Linked DNA regions of Homo sapiens: all the other regions are linked to region 4. The links are contacts of gene promoters, found by promoter capture Hi-C in human tissues and cell types (Jung and others, 2019). All regions are on one chromosome and are shown on one strand. Each heading gives the region's core, a stretch centred on a gene start or on the middle of the fragment in contact. The rest is flanking DNA. Distances are from core to core; before and after follow the strand shown.

Evidence for each region. The method cuts DNA at HindIII sites, captures the fragments that hold promoters and counts their contacts. A contact is called where the count stands out against the background at its distance.
Region 1: a fragment that was not itself captured here is called in contact with the fragment with the promoter of JAK3 in region 4 in 1 of the 25 tissues and cell types used here (IMR-90 fibroblasts).
Region 2: a contact is called between the fragment with the promoter of ARRDC2 here and the fragment with the promoter of JAK3 in region 4, in 2 of the 25 tissues and cell types used here (IMR-90 fibroblasts and lymphoblastoid cells).
Region 3: a fragment that was not itself captured here is called in contact with the fragment with the promoter of JAK3 in region 4 in 1 of the 25 tissues and cell types used here (aorta).

What each region holds. Positions count from the first base shown.
Region 1 is chr19:17,652,892-17,655,743 of GRCh38, reverse strand. UNC13A (unc-13 homolog A) reads left to right here. Exons shown (of 44, transcript NM_001080421.3): 11 at 362-470. Among named protein-coding and RNA genes, the nearest start is that of UNC13A, 34 kb to the left of the region's middle. The HindIII fragment of the contact is 6,355 bases long and covers 1-2,852 here.
Region 2 is chr19:18,006,748-18,009,447 of GRCh38, reverse strand. ARRDC2 (arrestin domain containing 2) reads right to left here and starts at 1,278. Exons shown (of 8, transcript NM_015683.2): 1 at 864-1,278; 2 at 671-737; 3 at 330-477. The coding sequence starts at 1,137. RefSeq lists an enhancer at 1,005-1,224. The HindIII fragment of the contact is 21,109 bases long and covers 93-2,700 here.
Region 3 is chr19:17,591,131-17,593,968 of GRCh38, reverse strand. No RefSeq gene overlaps it. Among named protein-coding and RNA genes, the nearest start is that of COLGALT1, 37 kb to the right of the region's middle. The HindIII fragment of the contact is 4,571 bases long and covers 1-2,838 here.
Region 4 is chr19:17,846,498-17,849,288 of GRCh38, reverse strand. JAK3 (Janus kinase 3) reads left to right here and starts at 1,307. Exons shown (of 24, transcript NM_000215.4): 1 at 1,307-1,343. The HindIII fragment of the contact is 13,300 bases long and covers 1-2,791 here.

The sequences.
Region 1 (2,852 bases), core at 177-2,676, 190 kb after region 4:
AGGTGACAGGGCAGAGTAGGGAGGTCAAAGAGGGTTCAAGGGGCCGTGAAGGAGACTTAGAGTTTGTGATCTTAGTGGTTGCTGGGGTCGGAGAGGTCAAGATCCTGGGCAAATGGGGGGCCAGAGGGGCTGGGCTGGTGAAAAGGAAGCCGAGGAACAGTGAAGTGTCACAGAAGCATTGGGTGTGTGGGAAGGGGTGAGGGGCACTGAGGTGGGCCAGGGGACTCACGTGGGTCCTAATGTCTCTGAGGGGTCAGAGATACCATGGGGAGCTATGCATCACTTGCACAGCTGGAGGGTCAAGGGAAGTTCAGGGGTCACGGAGAGCCAGCCCAGAGCCTCATAGCGTTCCCTGCCTCAGTTTCAGGCCGAGAGAGGATGAGGAAGGCCAGGAGGGGCAGGACTCCATGTCCAGGGCCAAGGCCAACTGGCTGCGTGCCTTCAACAAGGTGCGGATGCAGCTGCAGGAGGTGAGTGACACGCCCAGCCATGCCCCTGCCACACTTAGCCAGGCCACGCCCAATGGCAGGCCCACACATGTTTTGGCCACACCCACACCTATATTGGCCACGCCCAACACCCCACCCGTACCCAAGCCTAGCCTGGGCATGCCCAGTGCAGTGCCCACACTGTGCCCATGCCCCAGCCACTCGAGCCCTTCCCTGGCCCCACCCTCATTCAGCCTGGCCTCACCCAATGTCACCGATGCCCCACCCACTCTGACCCTTCCTTAGCCACATACACACACAGCCCAGGGTATCCCCATGGCCCGTCCACACCAGCCTGGCTATGCTAACTCCCAAACCATGCACCAAGTCTGGCCCCACACATCCCCAGCCCAGCCTCCTTCCCAATGTCAGCCTGGGGTTTCTAGATCTAGAGGGAGGAGAGAAAACTAGGGCTGAAACTGGGCTGAAGTCATGGTTAGGGATCAAGGTCAGGGTTAGTTCAGCCATCAAAGATCAGAGGTCAGGGTTAGAATTGGTGTTAGGCAAAGGGGTCAGTGCTTAGGGCCAAATTGGAGGTCATTGTCAGGGTTAGGGAAAGGTCTGGGGCCGGCTCAGTAGGGGAGTAGGAATCAAGGGAAGCAATCAGCATCAGGGGCAAGCTGACTGTTTAGATGGGCAGCAGGGTTGAGGCCATTCGTTTATTCCTTCATTCAGCTCACCCTGGGCTGGGGACAGCTGTGTTGCTCTTCAGAGTTACCCTCCAAACTGCAGTGGGATTGGCAGGAGGAGATTCTAAACAGACTCCCAAAGGTTTAGACCATCAAATATCAGAGCCACAAAATTACCAAACGAAATTTCTTAACAGTTTTAAAATAGAAATCTATTTTTTGACTCAGCAGTACATACATATGGTTCTAAATGAGACAGGTGGAAGAGGACACAGTGAAAAGGCTGTTGGATAACTTCCACTAGGTCAAGAAATTAAATTGAAAAAATAGCAGCTACTATTGGAACTATGTGATATACAAGAAAAACAAACTATGGAACTAGTAATATGACAAGAAAAAGACACATGGAAGGCTCTCTGGGTTTCATAGGAAAAGCATAAAACTAATCCAAGGCAATCAGGAAAACTCCCTGGAGGAGATGACACTTAAGGAGAAGTGATGGCCGGGCGTGGTTGCTCAAGCCTGTAATCCCAGCACTTTGGGAGGCCGAGGTGGGTGGATCACGAGGTCAGGAGATCGAGACCATCCTGGCTAACATGGTGAAACCCCGTCTCTAGTGAAAGTACAAAAAAATTAGCCGGCTGTGGTTGCAGGCGCCTGTAGTCCCAGCTACTCGGGAGGCTGAGGCAGGAGAATGGCGTGAACCCGGGAAGCGGAGCTGGCAGTGAGCCGAGATCGCGCCACTGCACACCAGCCTGGGTGACAGAGCGAGACTCCATTTCAAAAAAAAAAAAAAAAAAAAAAAGAGAAGTGATATCCAAAATATTTATTTCAACAATATTTCAGGAGCTCATGCCTGTAATCCCAGCAATTTGGGAGGTCGAGGCGGGAGGCTCACTTGCACTCAGGAGTTTGAGACCAGCCTGGGCAACGTAGTGAGACCTCATCTCTAAAAGAAAAAAATAAAAAATATTTCAGAGCCGGATGCAGTGGCTCACGCCTGTAATCCCAGCACTTTGGGAGGCAGAGGTGGGTGGATCACCTGAGGTCAGGAGTTCGAGACCAGCCTGGCCAACATAGTGAAACCCCACCTCTACTAAAAATACAAAAAATTAATTGGGTGTGGTGGTGGGCACCTGTAATCCCAGCTACTAGGAAGGCTGAGGCAGGAGAATCGCTTGAACCCAGGAGGTGGAGGTTGCAGTGAGCTGAGATTGCGCCACTGCACTCCAGCCTGGGCAACAAAAGGGAAACTCCGTCTCAAACAAACAAACAAACAAAATATATATATATATATTTATTTCAGGAGCTGAGTGTGGTGGCTTGTGTGTGTGGTCCCAGCTACTCAGGAGGCTGAAGCAGGAAGATCACATGAGGCCAGGAGTTCAAGACCAGTCTGGGCAATATAGCAAGACCCTGTCTTTAAAAAAAAACCAAACACCCCCTCAATATTTCAGAACAGAAGAGTGCTGCCTGTGTTCCTCATAGGGCCACCCCTCCCCCCATGTTAACCCTTTAGTTACAAGATGGAGGGAAGGTAGGGGCTGTGGACCCCACGTCTATGCTGAGACCCGAATGATAAATAGAGGCTGGTTGGCTGCAGAAGGTGGGAAGAGGTACAAGCTGAAGTCACAACTCCTGGAAAGAGCCCGAGGCAAGAGAGCAGATGAACAAGTGAGACTATAGGGGGTTTAGGGAATAATCAATGAAGAGACTGAGGTCCATTGAGGTGGTT
Region 2 (2,700 bases), core at 29-2,528, 160 kb before region 4:
AGAGCCAGGAACACAACCCATCTTATAAAGCCAGAAATGAAATGTATAAGCCAAGTGTTTGGTGTGTAATTCACACTTGGTAAGCCCTAGCTCTGGTCTATTTCACAGAAGAGGCATCTGAGGCTCAGAGAGGGCTTCAAGACACTTGCCCAGAGTCACACGGCAAATGGGTGCAGATCCCAGTGGATTCCACACGCATTCCCACACCTGCCTCCCTCCCTGCCAGGGCCCACCTATGACCTCCATCTTATTGGTTGGTGTCGCCCAGCAGCCAGGCAGGCCCCTTCCTACAATACTCCCAACCTACCTCCCCAAGGGTGGCCACTCACCAGCAGGGCTGGCGTGTTGATGTCCACAGGCTCGATGACAGTGAACACCTTCCTTGCCCGGCGTGCTGGGACCCAGGGCCGGTGCAGGGTGGCCTTGATACAGTAGCGGACACTACCGTGTTTGCCCTCGAAGGATGTCACCAGGGTCCTAGGGTGGAGGGACGGGACTTCAGGGGACAAGATACAGAGACAAGCAGGCAGGGAGAAGGAGACACAGACACTCCGGGGGCCTCCCAGGGGGAGAGTCTTGGGGCTCAGAGGTGCCCAGATATCCAGTATTGGAGGTACCAATCTGGAAGGGGCTGCAGGCTTAGGGCAACCCTGCACCCCAGAGGACTTACGGGGGCAGCTGGAAGCTGAACAGGAACTCATGGCGCCCAGGAGGCAGCGTCGTGGTCTCCCCGGTATCTGCAGGTAGGAGAAAAAGGAGGCGACTGAGCGGTTGCGCTGGGGTCCCAGGGCTGACGGAGGTACCGCCGTCCAGGTGGTGGGAGGCACACAACTGGTGTTGGAGCAGGGGTCCTCCATCCGTACCTGGCGCCAGGAGCGTGGCGCGGTGGCTCACGACCTCCACGCGTTCACTGTAGCTCTGCGTGTAAGCCGTGCTCGAGCCCGCGCTGCGCGACTCGGTCCAGTGCACGTGGGCGCGGCCCCGCGCGCGCAGCCTCAGGGCACCCACACGCGCGGCGCTTGACAGCTCCAGCAGCACCCGGCCCGCCACGGCCTGGCCGCCGCTAAACACGGGCTCGACGCCCGCGGTCGCGCCGTCCAACTGCACCGAGAACGCTTTCACCTTGTCGAATAGCATCGCGTCCGGGGTGCGAACCCACGACAGGCGGAACCTGGCCTCGAACTCGCGAACCGGCAGCTCAAGATGCCGACGCTGCAGCCTCAGAACGCAAAATCGCCGTCAACGCGCAGGCGCGCTCACCAACCGGAGCAGAAAATCCCCGCGCCGTGCGTCGGCGCCGCTTTTATACGGCAGGGCGGGGGGGGGTGGGGTCACCGTCTCTTCCCCGCCCCGGGAAGGGACTCCACCAATAGCGCGACAAGGGGCGTGGCTCTGCCCAGGCGTGGAGCAAAATAACAAACGCCCCTGCTCACCGCCGGCTGCCCCCTTCCCTCGCGGACCCCGGGGAGAAACTGAAGCCCTTAGGCTGCCAGAGCTGGTCTCTCGCGGACCCCGGGGGTAAAGAGGAAAAAAAGAGGTGCAGAGGCAGGGCCCAGGCCTGAGGTCACCTAGCAGAGCCTTCAGCCTCTCGGCTTAATCACTCACCAGCCGCCCCTCGTTGACGTGACTCGAGGCATGTCCAGCCCGATTTGGGGCGGGGGACTCTCGCCCCAGTTGAGGGCCAGAGAGCCTATGACTGTTCCAGGCCTGTTTCCCCCGCTATGCAAAGGGAGAAGTGGAGGAGGTGGGTGGGACCGCCCTCCACACTGGTGCCTGCTGCACCCCTTTCCTGATTCAAGTCCCGCTTAGCTGGTGGCTCTGGGCAAATGACAACCTCTTGGAGCCTCAGTTTCCACCTCTGTAGAGCCGGGAGAAAGTAAAAATCAGTCCTGACCTCAGAAGGTTGTGCATGGATCATCGTGCAGCCCCAGCTGGACTCCTCCAAGAGCCTCGCTCCCGGGTCATCAACCTGCTCTTGACATACCGTCACTCGGTCGCGCCTCGGCGCATTCGCCCAGGAGCGGTACCTACGAAATGATGTTCCCTTCCCAATTTTCAGCCTCTGGCAAACCCTACCTTCCCCGCAGCCCTTGTGCCTGCTCCAGTCATCCTCAGCCCCCGTCCCGCCACAGAGCTGAATGCAGGGGACGCTCGGGCACCCCCAGGTCCACAGCTGCGGTGTGGCCACGGGACGGCGTGACCTCTCTCTGGGCTTCAGTTTCCCCAAAGAAAAGTCGCATGGAGTTTCTCCAGCGGGAGTTGCCTCTGCGTCGTCTGCGGGACGCTGGCGCCCTCTCGTGGCAGCGTAATGCGCTGCCGCTGAACCCATCCCCTGCCGTGACTGTCCGCCTCTGAGCCTGGCTCAGGAGACTTCCACCACCTCAGTGAGGTGTGTGGGTGGAGGGGGCGGTCATAAACAAACACGGTCACCCTCAGCCCGTGATGGGGATCGGAACAGGAACGACGGAGTTGGAGGCACAGTGATCAGCCTGGAAGGCTGCCTGGGAGGATGGGTCTTTGGAGTTGAAAGGAAGGTCTGGGACCTTAGGCCAGGTTTCAATGGATACTAGAGGGGAGACAGTAGGCCGTTAAGTCCGGGAGGAGAAGCGGGATTAGGTAACCCTGAAGGGACTACTGAGCCAGCGCCTCCCTCAATTCATTTCGCAGACGGACCCCAAAGGCCCAGAGATGGGTGGGGCT
Region 3 (2,838 bases), core at 27-2,526, 260 kb after region 4:
GATCTCCCAAGGAAGGTCCCCCGATCTGAGTCACGGCACCAAATTTCATGCGTGTCTGTGTGAAGAGACCACCAAACAGGCTTTGTGTGAGCAATAAAGCTTTTAATCACCTGGGTGCAGGTGGGCTGAGTCTGAAAAGAGAGTCCTTGAAGGGAGATAAGGGTGGGGCCATTTTATAGGATTTGGGTAGATAAAGGAAAATTACAGTCAAAGGGGGGTTGTTCTCTGGCGGGCAGAGTGGGGGTCACAAGGTGCTCAGTAGGGGAGCTTTTGAGCCAGGATGAGCCAGGAGAAGGAATTTCACAAGACAATGTCATCAGTTAAGGCAGGAACCGGCCATCTGGATGTGTACATGCAGGTCACAGGGGATATGATGGCTTAGCTTGGGCTCAGAGGCCTGACACTGGGTTCATGCCATTCTCCTGCCTCAGCCTCCCGAGTAGCTGGGACTACAGGCGCTCACCACCATGCCCAGCTAATTTTTTGTATTTTCAGTAGAGACAGGGTTTCACCGTGTTAGCCAGGATGGTCTCAGTCTCCTGACCTCGTGATCCACCCACCTTGGCTTCCCAAAGTGCTAGGATTATAGGCGTGAGCCACTGTGTCTGGCCTGGAGTAGCCATTCTTTATTCCTTTACTTTCCTAATAAACTTGCTTTCACTTACTCTATGGACTCACCCTGACTTCTTTCTTTTTTTTTTTTTTTTTTTTTTGAGACAGAGTCTGGCTCTGTTGCCCAGGCTGGAGCTCAGTGGCGCAATCTCGGCTCACTGCAAGCTCTGCCTCCTGGGTTCATGCCATTCTCCTGCCTCAGCCTCCCGAGTAGCTGGGACTACAGGTGCCCGCCACTACACCCGGCTAATTTTTTTGTATTTTTAGCAGAGACGGGGTTTCACTGCGTTAGCCAGGATGGTCTCAATCTCCTGACCTCGTGATCCGCCCACCTCAGCCTCCCAAAGTGCTGGGATTACAGGCGTGAGCCACCGCGCCCGGCCTCCCTGACTTCTTTCTTGCACAAGATCCAAGAACCCTCTCTTGGGGTCTTGATCAGGACCCCTTTCCGGGAACACATAGAGACAGGAAGCAGATTGGTGGTGCCAGGGGCTGGGGGAGAGGGAGTGGAGAGTGACTGCTGATAGAAACGAGATCTCCTTTTAGGGGGATGAAAATGTTCTGGAAATTGATAAAGGTGATGGTCGTGTGACATTGCAAATGTGCTAAATTCCACCAAATTGGACATTTTAATCTGGTTAATTTTATGTTGTCTGATTCTTACCTCAATTTAAAAATTTTTTTTTCCAGATTCCGTGTTCAGCCAAATAATTTTTGGGGTTTTGTTTGTTTGTTTTATTTGTTTGCTTGTTTTAAGAGGGAGACTCGCTCTATCGCCCAGGCTGGAGCACAGTGGCACGATCTCCGCTCACCACAACCTCTGCCTCCTGGGTTCAAGTGATTCTCCTGCCTCACCCTCCTGAGTACCTGTGATTACAGGTGTGTGCCACCACGCCCGACTAATTTTTGTATTTTTATTAGAGGCAGGGTTGCACCATGTTGGTCAGGCTGGTCTCGAACTCCTGACCTCAGGTGAGTCCCAAAGTGCTGGGATTACAGGCATGAGCCACGGTGCCCAGCCCTGCCAAATTTTTTTTAAAACAAGTCAGATTTGAGGCCAGGAGTGGTGGCTCACGCCCGTAATCCCAGCACTTTAAGAGGCCGGGGCGGGTGGATCACCTGAGGTCAGGAGTTCGAGACCAGCCTGGACAACATGGTGAAACCCCATCTTTACTAAAAATACAAAAATTAGCCGGGCATGGTGGCACACACCTGTAATCCCAGCTACTCCAGAGGCTAGGCAGGAGAATCGCTTGAATGCGGGAGGCAGAGGTTGCAGTGAGCCAAGATCGCGCCATTGCACTCCAGCCTGGGCGACAAGAGTGAAACTCCGTTTCAAAAAAAAAAAAAAGTCAGATGTCAGATTTGGCCCTCATCCAGTTTGCTAATCCCTAACCTGACCTCATTGTTCTTCAACTTATTCGCCTGCATCTCCTCACTTCTCTCAACCTCAGACTAAACTCTCACACTATTCTCACGCCCATCACTATCCTTCCACTGTCACCTGAAACACCCCCACCCCAATCACTGTCCCTCTCATCCTAACCCCATTTGGCTCTTGCCTTCTTCTCCCACCACCAGCCATCCTGGCAGAACCACCCGGGAACTTCAAAAAGAGGCATATTCCATTTCCTGGAGGGCATAACACAATTATGTCGTTGATGATCTGTCTGAGATTACATTTCATTATATAATTGATTATATTGCATGATAATTACTCTGCTCCAAATCCTGCAATTACATGTAATAGTGACGATGATTATGCATCCTACAGTTACACCGTCGTCCCTATCATCATTGTAACCTACGCTAATAAGCCATCCATGGCAGGTTGACATCAGCATCCGCCCCTGTCCCACCCCATTCCAAAGCCCCAGCTACACAGGCAGATCTCCCTGTGGCTGGGCAGACTCAGGGTGTCTGCCCAAGTTCACCTGCCAGATGCACCTCTGGGAGTCTGGAAAACAAAAGGGACTTGAGTCGTCTTGGTTTTCCTTCCCCTTCACTCTGCCAGCAGCCAGATGTGGAAACAGTTGAGGTTTTAGCATTCCTCTGTTCAGTGACAACCTCGGGGCGCTTTGGAAAGCCACTTCTTCAAGGTCATCTCTGTAGGACCAGACTCAGTCCTGATCCTTTGTACCCAGAGATGGCAAACTTCAGCCCCCAGGCCAAATCTGACTCCACACTGGTTTTTGCAAATAAAGTTTTATTGGCACACAGCCAAGC
Region 4 (2,791 bases), core at 58-2,557:
AGGCAAAACCCACCCTTCTCCCAAAGACCCTGATCCCCCTGTCCCCCCACGATCTTGCCCCTGTTGACCGCCCTGCAGTCCCCTTCCCCCTCATCTCACCCCTGCCCCTGGCCTCCTGACTGCTCTTCAAGCTGCTAAGATCACTGCCCTCTCAAGGTCTTTGCCCATCCTGTGCCCTCCTCCTGGAGCACCCTTTCCCTGGCCAGCTCCCTGTCCTGCCTCGGGTCCAAGTTCCAGTCTGTGCCTGTCCTGACACCCTGGCTTTCTTTGTTGTCTGCGATGATTTGGCTCCTTCATTTGCTCATTGTCTCAGCGCCAGATCACAAGTTCCAAGAGGCCAGGCCGGATCCACCTGGTTTTTTAGGGCTGGGCCCAGGGCACCACAGGCAGAAATGGGTCATTATCTCTCCCTGAGTCTTTTCTTTTTTTTTTAAACGAAGTCCCGCTCTGTTGCCAGGCTGGAGTGCAGTGGCGCCATCTCGTCTCACTGTAACATCCGCCTCCTAGATTCAAGCAATCCTCCCACCTCAGCCTCCTGAGTAGCTAGGATTACAGGCATCACCAGGCCTGGCTAATTTTCCTGTTTTTAGTAGAGACAGGGTTTCATCATGTTGGCCAGGCTGGTCTCAAACTCCTGACTTCAAGTGATCCGCCCGCCTCAGCCTCCCAAAGTGCTGCGATTACAGGCCACCACGCCTGGCTAATTTTTGTATTTTTAGTAGAGACGGAGTTTCGCCATGTTGGCTAGGCTGGTCTCAAACTCCTGACCTCAAGTAATCGCCCGCCTCAGTCTCCCAAAGTGCTGGGATGACAGGCGTGAGCCACTGCGCCCAGCGTCTCCCTGAGTCTTAAGGGAGAAATACCTCAAAGAAGAACTTGACCTTCCTCTGGGGCAACTTCCCTGCTTCCCTCCTGGGCAAATCCAGCCAGGTTTCCTTCCCTGGGTGCAAAATTAGTTCCACTGGGTGCCCAACTCACACATGCTACAGATGGGTAAACTGAGGCAATAAGGGCCGGGCCAGAGCCCCACTTAACAAGTGGGTCTAGAGTCGGCTGAGCCCCTGGTGTGACCCAGACCCTTCTCTGTGCTATCATCAGTTCCTTTGGCTTAGGGGTCTCCAGCAGCCTGTCTGAACGGGGCGGCTGATGCAGAGGCTTCCGGAACTTTCTGCCCCTCCTTGCCCGCCTCCCCGCCCCCAGCTCCCGCAGGGCCCTGACTTTCGGTAAATGACAGTGGCTCAGGAAACCAAGGGGCCCACACAGGAAGGAGCCGAGTGGGACTTTCCTCTCGCTGCCTCCCGGCTCTGCCCGCCCTTCGAAAGTCCAGGGTCCCTGCCCGCTAGGTAAGAGCTGGCGATGCCGCAGGGCTCGGCCCAGACACTGGGGGAGGATGGTGGTGGCGGGGGATGGCTGGGCTGGGGCAGGGTGCTGCCAGGGCAAAGGCTAGCTCGCCTTCCAGGCCTCGGAGGAAAGCTGCGAGGCAGACGTGAGCCGAGACTCGCATCCTCCGATCGCTCGCTTCTCTGGGCTTCGGCTTTGACTAAGGCCGGGAGATGCCTGCCTTGCGGACCTGGAGGAGTCATTGCGCATGCGCGACGGGGGCTGCGGGGTTGGGGGTGGGGAGGAGGGATTGGGAAGGAGGGATTGGGGGGCGGAGTTCCCAGCCCCTACCCTCCAGGCCTTCCCGGTCCAGACACAGGGTACCCGACCATACCAGGATGCAGAACGTTGAGGATTATAAACAGGGGATGCCGAGGCGGGAGGATAGCTTGAGGCCAGGAGTTCAAGGCCAGCCTGGGCAACATAGCCAGACCTCCATTTCTACAAACATTTTTAAAAAACCAAAAAAACTATGGCGTTTTCTGGGACCAAACATCACCTCTGACTTTTCATTTTTTTTTGTTACAGTATTACAGAATAATAATATTCTGTTAAGATTTTTTTGTTGTTTTGGAGATGGGAGTCTTGCTATGTTGTTCAGGCAGGTCTCTAACCCCTGGCCTCAAGCTATCCTGCTGCCTCAGCCCCCTGAGTAGCTGGGATTGCAGTGGGGCGCCACTGCCACTGAAGCCTTATTTTAAACTCGACTGGGGCTGGGCACAGTGGCTCATGCCTTTAATCCCAACACTTTGGGAGGCTGAGGCCAGCGGATCACTGGAGGTCAGGAGTTCGAGATCAGCCTGGTCAACATGGTGAAACCCTATCTCTACTAAAAACACAAAAATTAGCCAGGTTTGGTGGCGGGTGCCTGTAATTCCAGCTACTCAGGAGGCTGAGGCAGGAGAATCGCTTGAACCTGGGAGGTGGAGTTTGCAGTGAGCCGAGATCATGCCACTGCACTCCAGCCTGGGAGACAGAACAAGAATCCGTCCTCCCCCCTACAAAATAAATAAATAAATAAAAAGGCTGGGCAATGTGGCTCACGTGTGTAATCACAGCACTTTGGGAGGCCAAGGCAGGCGAATCACCTGAGGCCAGGAGTTTGAGACCAGCCTGGCCAACATGGTGAAACTCCGTCTCTACTAAAAATACAAAAATTAGCTGGGCGCTGTGGTGCGCGCCTGTAATCCCAGCCACTTGGGAAGCTGAGGCATGAGAATCGCTTGAACCCAGGAGGCAGAGGCTACAGTGAGCCAAGATCGTGCGACTGCACTCCAGCCTGGGTGACAGTGCGAGACTCCGTCTCAAAAAAACAAACAAACAAACCAAAAAACTTGATTGGCTGATGTTGAGGGGACGATAGAGAGGCTATGGTGTGTGATTTTATTTCTATAAAGGGCAAAACTAGACA